Regions from separate parts of the Homo sapiens genome. Here all the other regions are linked to region 3. The links are contacts of gene promoters, found by promoter capture Hi-C in human tissues and cell types (Jung and others, 2019). All regions are on one chromosome and are shown on one strand. The core of a region is centred on a gene start or on the middle of the fragment in contact, and the rest is flanking DNA. Distances in the headings are between cores, read along the strand shown.

Evidence for each region. Contacts are between HindIII fragments. The study calls those that stand out against the background at their distance.
Region 1: a fragment that was not itself captured here is called in contact with the fragment with the promoter of CRTC3 in region 3 in 1 of the 25 tissues and cell types used here (spleen).
Region 2: a contact is called between a fragment that was not itself captured here and the fragment with the promoter of CRTC3 in region 3, in 5 of the 25 tissues and cell types used here (H1 embryonic stem cells, aorta, dorsolateral prefrontal cortex and 2 more).

The regions. Positions count from the first base shown.
Region 1 is chr15:90,016,585-90,020,370 of GRCh38, reverse strand. All of the region lies in intron 1 of ZNF710 (zinc finger protein 710), which reads right to left. Among named protein-coding and RNA genes, the nearest start is that of MIR3174, 12 kb to the right of the region's middle. The HindIII fragment of the contact is 6,651 bases long and covers 1-3,786 here.
Region 2 is chr15:90,239,752-90,243,334 of GRCh38, reverse strand. It overlaps GDPGP1 (GDP-D-glucose phosphorylase 1), which reads right to left. Exons shown (of 4, transcript NM_001013657.3): 4 at 1-2,435. The coding sequence starts at 2,426. The coding sequence ends at 1,269. It also overlaps a transcript of CIB1 not described here. Among named protein-coding and RNA genes, the nearest start is that of GDPGP1, 7.3 kb to the right of the region's middle. The HindIII fragment of the contact is 7,306 bases long and covers 1-3,583 here.
Region 3 is chr15:90,528,289-90,531,744 of GRCh38, reverse strand. CRTC3 (CREB regulated transcription coactivator 3) reads right to left here and starts at 1,822. Exons shown (of 15, transcript NM_022769.5): 1 at 1,542-1,822. The coding sequence starts at 1,673. RefSeq lists an enhancer at 719-878 and silencers at 1,269-1,448, 1,469-2,218, 2,319-2,368. The HindIII fragment of the contact is 24,563 bases long and covers 1-3,456 here.

The sequences.
Region 1 (3,786 bases), core at 166-2,665, 510 kb after region 3:
GGGCGTTGGTAGCAGAGCTGGAGGAGGGAAGGGGCTGTGAGGTGCCTGGATGTGCCCAGTCCTGAAGGTGGGCACCAGTCTAGGTCCCGGCAGGAGAGAAAAGGGAAGAAAGAAGCTCAGCCCACAGGAAGGGCCCCAGAGGCCCCATGAAGAATGCGCTGTCACGCAGGAGGAAGACAGCGGAAAAGGAGGAAGAGCCGGTCAGCAGTGGGAACAGGAAGGTCCGATTTAGACCACGTAAATGCTACTTCCTCAGTAATTCCATCAAACTTCCCTCTGTTCCCCACACCAAGTGATGACGAAGAACTGGGCTTCAAGGGGCTGAAAGTCTGGGCAGAGGCACTTCCTTGGCCTGGACTCCTGGGCTAGAGTCTGAGGCCTCCACAGGAAATCCTCGGCTCCCCCACTCACCGCCCCCCAATAAGCACCAACCTAGTCTCTGGATTAGGGCAGGATGTTTGTTTAGGAGCATTCTCTTGGAAGAAAGACCAGCCTAAGTTCTCTGACAGACTCTGGAATCCTCAAAGCCAGCTCTCTGTCCCGGGCACCCTAACGGCTGGCACCAGAGAAGGTTACCCTGGGGAGCCACAGGCCTGCAGCTTCCTGGGGTCATGGGAGGCAAGACAGGGTCTCTGGGCCCAGCCCTCGCACTCCCATTGTAAAGCGACGGGCCAGGATGACAGACTCCCTTTCCTAGGTCAGCTGTGCCCGGAGTCTCTCAGGCCCTTCCTTGCCATTTACTCTCAGCCAACCTGTATGACCCGTGAGAAACATTAGGAAACAGAGGTCTGAAAGACTCACAACCATGTTTAAAAGAATGGGAGTTAGTATTTGGCTAAACAGAATCCAAATATGATACAATGTGTCTGGGGGCAATTTACCCATCTAGACGAACAGCCTTTAGAATGTGTCCTTGGCCCAGTGATTCTCTTCTGGAGATGTATCCCAAGGAAATAACCAAGTCTGTGGGCAAATATACCCAAGGATGTTTACCACAGCATTCTTTACAAGACAGAAACAGAGGAAACAAGCTAAATGTAGGAGATTGGTTAAATAAATGATAGTCCATCTGTTCAAAAGAACTATACAACCCTTTAAAGTGACTTGACGGAGGCTGCTTAACCTGATGGAAATTTTAATCACATGTTGTAAAGTAAAAGCAAAAAAAAAAAAAAAAAAAAAAGAAAGAAAAAGTAATAAGATGGTACAAACAGTATGATCTCATCTTTTGAAATTGAAAAATATTCTGGGGGGGCTATACAATATACTAAAATATTAATAATTATAGGTGGTTTTTATCTTTTTTGCCTACTTATAGTCCCTAAATTTTCTGCAATAATCATCAACCTCTTTGTAGCAAGAAAAAAAAATCAATAAAAGCTATTTTCTAAAAAACAAAAGGAAGAGATACAAGATCCAAGAGACTGTTCATTCCTTGGGCATTCAAATCTAAGATGGATTAAAAAACAAACAAACAAACAAAAAACCACTAGACAGAGACATCTTAAATCCACCTAAGAATATTTAAGAATATTTTCAAGGTGGTTTCCAGGACAGGGAAATTAGAATCCTCCAGAAGGCCCTACTGAGCACAGGAAGACTGAGAGCCACCAGCAGGGAGACACATCCTCCAGCAACGTCCATGAAGACCCAGGGCCCAGCTTTCCTGTGTGGGCCCTTCCAGTCACTGTAGCTGAGTGGGGAGGTGAGGGGCAGGCAGGGGCCAAGGTGCAAAAAGGCAAAGCAGACATGACCTCTGTCCTGGTTTACGGAAAGGGCAATGGCCGTTTCTTTAGACAGTGAATTCAAAGAGGAGGCGAAAAAAGGCCAGTTCTTAATCTGAGATTTGTTAATCTAGGTGGCGACAAGAAATGAATTTTTACAACCACGGTAGGAAAACCCCAGCTGGGCGCGGTGGCTCACGCCTGTAATCTCAGCACTTTGGGAGGCCACGGTAGGCGGATCACCTGAAGTCAGGAGTTCAAGACCAGCCTGCCAACATGGTGAAACCCCGGCTCTACTAAAAATACAAAAAGTAGCTGGGTGTGGTGGCACACGCCTGTGATCCCAGCTATTCAGGAAGCTGAGGCAGGTGAACTGCTTGAATCCGGGAGGCGGAGGTTGCAGTGAGTCGAGATCACGCCACTGTCCTCCAGTCTGGGTGACAGAGCAAGACTCCATTTCAAAAAAAAAAAAAAAAGAAAAAAGAAAAGAAAAGCCCCAAAACAGGGATTTGGAAGAGAAATTCTAACAAGCTCTGTAATTGAAGCAAAAGAACACAGCTGATGTTACACAGAAGTTTTTCTGGGGGAGACAGAACACAAGAAGATGATGGAGCAGAATGCTGGGTAGGACGTCCAGAGCGCTCACAGCACACTGTGAGTGAGAAGCTAGCCTTTGCTAAGAGAGATGCCCTGGAGCCCAAGGAAGGAGATTCCATAGGGCATGGCCTTAATTATTCAAGCACCAGGAAAACCTGAGGAGCAGTGGGGAGGTGTCTCAATGTTGCCGGTCCCTTTATGATCAAAAGCCAAAAGCTTTAAAGTCTATTTCAGATATCAAAATGCATCCATTTGGGAACCGTTTCCTGGGTGCTTCCCATCCATTCTCGAATTCTGCAAACAACTGGGCACTGATGAGTATAAACTTTCCAGGGGAACAGCACCATGCTGTTCAAGACACTCCCACCTTCACCAAGTAACCAAACAAAAGTGGACAGGATGGGTCATTAGGATGCATCCCTTGCAAGATGCCAAGCAGTATAGTGACAGGATGTTGGACATGCCAGCTCAGGCCCACAGATCCCGAAAACTTCCTACCCCCGAGAGCATTCCTCAGCCCAAAAGGACCCTGCTTCTTTCTTAAAGAATGATGACTCCAAGTTAGAAAATAAATATGGCACCACACACAAGGACAGCCGGAGCTGGATGATTTTGTATCTCTTAAAGACATCAAATTCTTCCCCTGGTGAAGCTATAGCCTGTAAATTACAGCCTTGTATTATATATGGCCAACACTTTCAGCTTTGTTCTCCATACAGCATTTCTCATCAGCAAGGAGGAAGCAGTCAATACCCTACTTTGAAAAACAGCACAGGTGGTTCTGGGAAACAAATAATAAAAATGCACCTCTCCCTCCCTTTAATTAAAGACATGCTATCCAATGGCACTTCTGAATAGAAAAATATTTTTAAAAAGTTATTCTCCCAGAATCTTCCAAGTACCAAGTGCCTTTACCCCTAAAAAGTTCCCTGCCATAAAACAAAGTGAATGCACCAGCTTAGGGAGCCAGGAAATGCTCCCTCAGCACCTGGCAGCAGCTGGCACCTACCTGAGGCCAGTTTACAGACAGAAAGAAAAGCTCCCTTGAAATAACGCTAAGGTTCAGACATTCTGATAAAAGCTGGGAACTTCAAAGGCAGGACTGCAGAGCCAATCCGTAATCCTCCTCGAAGTGTCTGATGTGGCTGGCTGGGCTCTGGGCTTGCCTTTACCACCTACTGCCTGAGCTTTTGCCCCGTAGGCACAAGCCAGCTGCAGAGGCAGGAGTGGAAGTTTCTTTACAGTCACTCCCTTTGCAGAGATGGGTCTAGGCTATGGTGTATGGCCATTTGTCCTTGACCAATGAAATGTTGGTTAAAAAAAACAAGAGGCCAGGCACAGTGGCCCACGCCTATAATCCTTGGGAAGCCAAGGTGGAAGAATCACTGAGGCCGTTAGCTTGAGACCAGCACAGACCCCACCTCTACAAAAAATTTAAAAATGAGCCAGGCATGATGGTACATGC
Region 2 (3,583 bases), core at 1,084-3,583, 290 kb after region 3:
GTTTTTACATCAGATGATGTCAGTGAAGAGCATTCAACTTGGTGTTGGGGGCTAGAGGAAAGCTCAAGGTGGCAGGGAAAGTGAAGGAGTGGGGCATTTGGGTGGAGCAGGGCTAAATGGAAAGAAGGGACAAAGCAATAAAAATAAGTGGTGAGCAAAGGGGAATAAACAGGCTGAGAACAGAAGTGGCAGCTCAATACTGGAGGCACAGGCACTATTACCGTGCTAACATTTGATATCAAAGGAAGACAAAATCTAAATGTAAAGTCAGGAGTGTGTAACTGTCACACACACTCCTTTTTAACACCCCTGGGGCTTGAACAAGAACGGGGAGAGGTAGCAGATACATTCATGATGTCTTACTCAGTAGAATTATTCCAGATTTTCTCCCCTTTAAAGAGACCACTATCAGCTCCCCTTTAAAGAGACCATTATCTTTCTCCCCTTTAAGAGATCATTATCAGCTTTCTTCATCCTTCTTCTTAGGCTGAGACAGGTGAGAAGGCAGCCATGAAAATAAATGTCCAAAGGACTATGATGGACAGTGCTCTGGAAAGGGACTCATCAGGTAGAAAATGAATACATCCTGGCTGGGTGTGGTGGCTCACGCCTGTAATCCCAGCACTTTGGGAGGCCGAGGCGGGCGGATCACCTAAAGTCAGGAGTTCAAGACCAGCCTAGCCAATGTGGTGAAACCCCTTCTCTTTTAAAAATACAAAAAAATTAGCCGGGTTTGGTGGCAGGAGCCTGTATAGTCCCAGCTACTCGGGAGGCTGAGCCAGGAGGATCACTCGAACCCTAGAGGTGGAGGTTGCAGTGAGCCGAGATTGTACCAGTGCACCCCAACCTAGGTGACAGAGCGAGACTATCTCAAAAAAAAAAAAAAAAAAAAAAAAAAAAAAAGAAACAGAAAAGAATCCAGGGGCTCACTCCTGTCATCTCAGTACTTTGGGAGGCCGAGGTGGGAGGACTGCTTCAGCCCAAGAGTTCAAGACCAGCCTGGGCAACATGGTGAAACGCTGTCTATATAAAAAAATACAAAATCACCTAATCGTTAAAAAAAAAAAAAAAAAAAAAAAAAGCCAGGTGTGTGGTGGTGCACGCCTATAGTCTCAGCTACTCAAGAGGCTGAGGTGGGAGGATCACTTCAGCCCCAGAGGTGGAGGCTACAGTGAGCCAGGATCATACCACTACACTCTAGCCTGGGGACAGAGTGAGACCCTATCTCAAAAGAAAAGAAAAAAAGAACATAAATACATCCAGAAGTATTATTGCTCTTCCTGGGACATCAGGGCCACCAGTGCTGCCTGTACGTCTTCTGCCTGGGATGGGGGCAGCCGACAGTCCTGAATGAGGGCCACAGCAGCTGCCTCTGTCAGGCTGCTGAAGTCCTGGGATGTTTTGACAGGGAGGTGCCCAGCCAGCTCACAGAGGGCAACATTGAAAGCTTCACCGTCCTTTATCCCAAAGCTGGACTTCCGGGCCCACAGAATTACTCGGACCCCTGTGAGGGCTGAGGAAGGTGATGTCTTTCCCGGCGGAGCTCCCCGGGTGACAAACAAGTTATGAGCAATCTCATGGTCAGTCAGATAATCAGTGGCCCGACATACCCTGCTTATCAAGGACTCCAAGTCAGGCCCTGGCCCACGAGTGTAAAAGAGGAAGCCAGGAGCTGGGAGGTCCTGGAGCAGATGCAAATGGCCTCCAGGGTCCAGGGGCTCGCTTGGCGCCTGCTCCACGGGCAGTCTGTGGGCCAGGTAATAGCCATGCAGGTGGAGGTGGTTCACCGAGGCCAAGCCTCCCAGGCTGTTGAAGCCGACACGGAAGCCCGGGTGTAAGCTCAGCAGCACAGCCTCAATCCCTGCCCTCAGTGCACCCGGCAGCAGGCGCTGGGGGAGCTGGCGGGCAGGCTCAGGCACCAGCAGCACGTGGCCCCACTCCAGGGGGCTGACGTTGATCACCACCAGGATGTCTTCTTGCAGCAGAGTCCCAGGGAGATCAGGCTCCCGGTGCAAACGGAAGAGGACTTCTCCGGGCCGGATCTTGTTGAAGTTGAACTGTACAGGGTCAAATGCCTGCCTCACACTCTTGATGGTCTGCGGGGGCCTCCTCTGCACACCACGCTCCACATTCAGCTGAGCCACGAAACCCACAGCACCAGGGAGGATTTGGGTCTGTAGCTCCCGTAGACGGTAGCGAAACAGCCCCAGCTCCACCCGCTGCTTCCAGGCAGAGCAGAGTGCAGCATCAAAGGGAGATTGTGGCAGAGCATCTGGGATGCCAGGTGCATTCCTTGGCCACTGAATCCCTTCTGCCATGAGATCCTTCTGCCCATAAACAAAGTCAGGAATGGTTTGCCTGCCCCAGTCCTCATTGTTGGGAGGCAGCAAATAGGAAGTTTCGTTTGAATCATGTGGAAGAGCCATAGAGCTGACCTGAAATAGTCATAAAAGATGAAAACACATGATGGTAACCCACCTCCAGAGATTGTCATTGTATTTATTTATTTATTTTTTTTTTTGAGATGGAGTCTCACTCTGTCACCCAGGCTGGAGTGCAGTGGCAGTGATCTTGGTTCACTGTAACCTCCGCCTCCTGGGTTCAAGCGGTTCTCCCGCCTCAGCCTCCTGGGCAGCTGGGGTTACAGGCAGGCACCACCATGCCCGGGTAATTTTTGTATTTTTAGTAGAGATGGTGTTTCACCATGTTGGCCAGGCTGGTCTTGAACTCCTGACATCGGGTGATCCCTTTGCCTTGGCCTCCCAAAGTGCTGGGATTACAGGCATGAACCAACATGCACAGCTTATTTATTTATTTTTATTTTTTTGAGACAGAGTCTCACTCTGTTGCCCAGGCTAGAGGGCAGTGGCGCGATCTTGGCTCACTGCAACCTCCACCTCCTGGGTTCAAGTGATTCTCATGCCTCAGCCTCCCAAGCAGCTGGAATTACAGGCACCCGCCACCAGGCCCGGCTAATTTTTGTATTTTTAGTAGAGGCAGGGTTTCACCACATTGGCCAGGCCGGTCTTGAACTCCTGACCTCCGGTGACCCTCCCCTCTCGGCTTCCCAAAGTGCTGGGATTACAGGCCTGAGCCACTGCACCTGGCCTATTTATTTATTTATCACTCTGTCACCCAGGCTGGAGTGCAATGGCGCTATCTTGGCTCACTGCAACCTCTACCTCCCAGGTTCAAGCGATTCTCTGGCCTCAGCCTCCCAAGTAGCTGGGATTATAGGAATGTGCCACCACAGCCAGCTAATTTTGTATTTTTGGTAGAGACAGGGTTTCACCATGTTGGTCTGGCTGGTCTTGAACTCCTGACCTCAGGTGATCCACCCACCTCGGCTTCCCAAAGTGCTGGGATTACAGGTGTGAGCCACTGCGCCCAGCCACGGCCTATTTTATTTTGAAACAGGTTCTCACTCTGTCACCCAGGCAGGAGTGCAGTGGTGCATACATGTCTCCCTGAAGCCTTGACCTCCCAGGCTCAAGGGATTCTTTCACCTCAGCATCCCAAGTATCTGGAACTACAGGCATGTGCCACCAGGCACTGCCGAGATCGCACCATTGCAGTCCAGCCT
Region 3 (3,456 bases), core at 573-3,072:
GGCCCCAACACTAATCCTCAGCTTTCACCCACCCATTCTTTTCAACGTGCTCTGAGCTTATCGAGTTCATCTCTGAATCTAACCAAGGTCACAGATGTAAATGCCAGTGGATGCCAGGCAGGTAAAAAATGAGTGAAGCTGATAGGGTATAAGAAAACATTTTCTTGAAATCTTCAGCTTCTTTCTCTCTATATATATATTTTTTCTCAATGTGAACAGAAATGTAAGTACAGGAAATATTTCACTTTTTCCTTAACTTCACTGAAAGAAAACACCATCATGAGTATAAATGGCAACTGTCACCTAATCTCCCCTTGGGGGACTGTGACAGAGAGTGGACGGTGGCAAACTAGAGTTCTTACTCCATTTGAAAGGGAGCTCAGCTCAGCTCCCTTTCATCATCACCCAGCTCCAGCAGGTCGGTAGCTGTCATGTAGGAATTCAGAATTAGTGTTACCAGGTCTCCCAATTTTTAACATATATAAATAATAATAAATAAATAATACGGAAATTTGGATTTTGTGTGGAAGTCTTCCAATTTAAAAATTCTGGCAACAGATTCAATAATTTTTCCCAAACACTGCGCTGGCCAAAAAATAATGTGTCTGCAACTCAGCTGGTTTGCAACTCTGCTCTCAGCTCTCCTTCAAACTGTCTCCCCCGCCTCAGTCCCCCAGAATCTGCAGATCCTCCCCCATCCTCCCGATGGTCCTCCAAGGTCAGCATTCAGGATCCTCAAGGCCAGCCCCACTCCTGCTGACCCCCCTTCTCTGCAACCCTGCGCGGACACTCCGGTTGGCTCTCCATCCTCCACTGCCTCACTCAGCGGTTACCTAACCTCTCCAGGTGTTTGTCCCGGCTCGCGCCTTACTCATTCCTCCAGGTCCCTCTCCAGTCACCAGCGACGCTTGTCAGTTCTCACTAAATATCCCGGGCCGAACAAAGTAAACTGGACCCGATAAAGCACCTCCAAGGAGTAAAAGGAGCAGAGCCTCACACTCGACACGGAATCCCGTCGTGGTTCCAACAACCCGAGCCACCCCAGGGCCGGGCCCTGGATGGACTTGTGCACAGAGCTCCCCCCACGAGCGCGTGGGACCCTGGGGTGCCCGCGGCCTTCCACGCCGGCAGAACAGCAGGGCTCGATGGTGGGGGATGTTCGGAGCGACCAGAAGCCGCGCCGCGCCACCCGGCCGGCCTCCGAGCTGTTTGCGATTTCCTCTCGGGGCTCCTCGTCCTCCTCCCCCTCAGGCCGCCCTCGCACGGCCGCCCGCCTCCACGGGCTTCACCCCTGCCCATCTTCCCGCACACGGGGCCGGGCGACCCTCCCACCTCAGCCCGGGATCGCGAACGGCTAGCGGGTGTCGCCAGGCGGGGAAACGCCGAGGCCGCGGCCGCTCCGGTCCCCCTCCCAGCCGCCGGTTCCCGGGCGCGGCCCCCGCCCGGCCCCGCCATCGCCTTGGCCCCGCAACCTCTCACCCGCCGCGCGGGTCCCGCCCGCGGCCGTGGCCGCCCCCGCCCGCGCCGGCCCGGGCCCTCACCCGCGACAGGGTGAGGTCGGTCATGAGCTGCTCGAAGGCCCGCGTCTCCTCGGCCTGTCTCTGCGTGTGCAGCGCGATCTTCTCACTGAACTTCCGCGGGTTGGCGCTGCCCGAGCCCGGCGAGGCGGCCATGGCGCGGACTCTGCGCGGGCAGAAGCGGGAGACGGCGGCCGTGGGGCCTGTACCTCGGCCCACCCGTCCGTCCACAGGCCGCCGGGGCCGCCGCCCGAAGCCAGTCGTCCGGCGCGACCCGGCAGAGGAGCCGCCGCGGCCCCGGAGCCAGCGAGCGGCCGGGAGCGCGCCGAGGTCCGCCCCCGTGCGCCCGGCCCCGCCCCACCCTCGGCGGGGCCCGCCCGGCCTCCAGTCTGCCCCGGCCCCACGCTCGCGGGCTGAGGGCTGCTCCCCGCTTCCCGGTCTGGCTCGGGACCCGCCGCCGGCGGCCACCTGGAGGGACCCCCGTCAGCCCGACAAAGTGGCCCCGGCGTACGGGGAACGCTGGGGTGCCACTCCACGGAGACTCTCCGACCCAGGGATGGCCTCTGCGTCTACGCGACGTGGAGAACACAGCCTGTGCCCGCATCCCCCCTCCCCCAGCCAAATTACGAAGATTTTCTTCTCCAGGTGGAACCTGGGCGACCGGACCTCGAGCAGGTCACCTCGGGCCCCCGCAGGGGGTGCGCCCATTTTGCCTGGGGCCTAACGTCTGCCCGCCAGCCCTGCCGCTCCAGGCCCCCGGCCTCCAGCCGCTGGTTTCCTGACCTCTCACACCCACCCCTCCCCGCTCCAGTCAACCAGAGCTGTATCTCGGCTTTAAAAACTGCCTCCTATTCTGCACAAACTACAAACACCATCCAGCCCTGCTGCAGCCTTGGCTCCATAGCCCCGGCCCCCTTTCCAGGTTCTTTCCAAGTCTCCCTACGGCCTCTCCACTCCTGTGGCAGCTTCAGCAGGTGCCAGCCCCACCTTGGGAAACCAGCGCTCAGCCTCAGCGAATTTCCCCTTCTTTTGGGGGAGTGAATGGATGTCTTTCTCTGTCGCCCGGTCTGGAGTGTAGTGGTGCGATCTCGACTCACCGCGGCCTTGACCTCCCGGGCTCAAAAGATCCTCCCACCTCAGCCTCCCGACCAGCTGGGACCACAGGCGGGGGTCACCACGCCCGGCTAGTTTGTAAATGTTTTTGTAGCAATGGGGGGCGGGGGTGGGTCTCGCTATTTTGCCCAGGCTGGTCTCGAACGCCTGGGCTCAAGCGATCTGCCCACCTCAGCCTCCCAAAGTGCTGGGATAACAGGCGTGGGCCACAGTGCCCGGGGAGTTTCCTCTTTGGAGTCCAGAAGCTACTCTCAGCATAAATGTTGATGTGCACAAAGATGTCCCGGGGAGCCCTGAGCGTGTGTCAGTGTTCTGTAAAGAGGGAAATATTAGAGGCCTACGGAAGAGTACGGAAAATAATATTAATACTACCCACGCCCCCCACTATCAAGATTAAACAGACATCAATACATTTTGCTGCATGTACTTGGGATTTATTAAAGACATACAAAATTAGTCATAACGACGGCCCCACTCTCATTTCTTCTTCCGCCCCACAGATAGTCACCGTGCTCAAGTTGGTACATATCATTCCAGTTTGTGTTTTTATACTTTTATTACATATGATGTAGAGATCCAGCAATGCTATATGGAATACCTAATTTTGTTTTTAAACTTTACAAAAATGACACCATACTGAATAATCATTTTGCATCTTTTTTCATTCTCCATTATGTTTTCGAGATATATTTGTGTCAATTCATTTATATGATAATATTCCATTATGTTTTTCACCTGTCTCTCAGACATAGCCTATAACTGGACTTTTTAGAAAATGTATTCTGAAAATATATCTCTGTTAGCTAGAATTTAGCTATTTTTATTA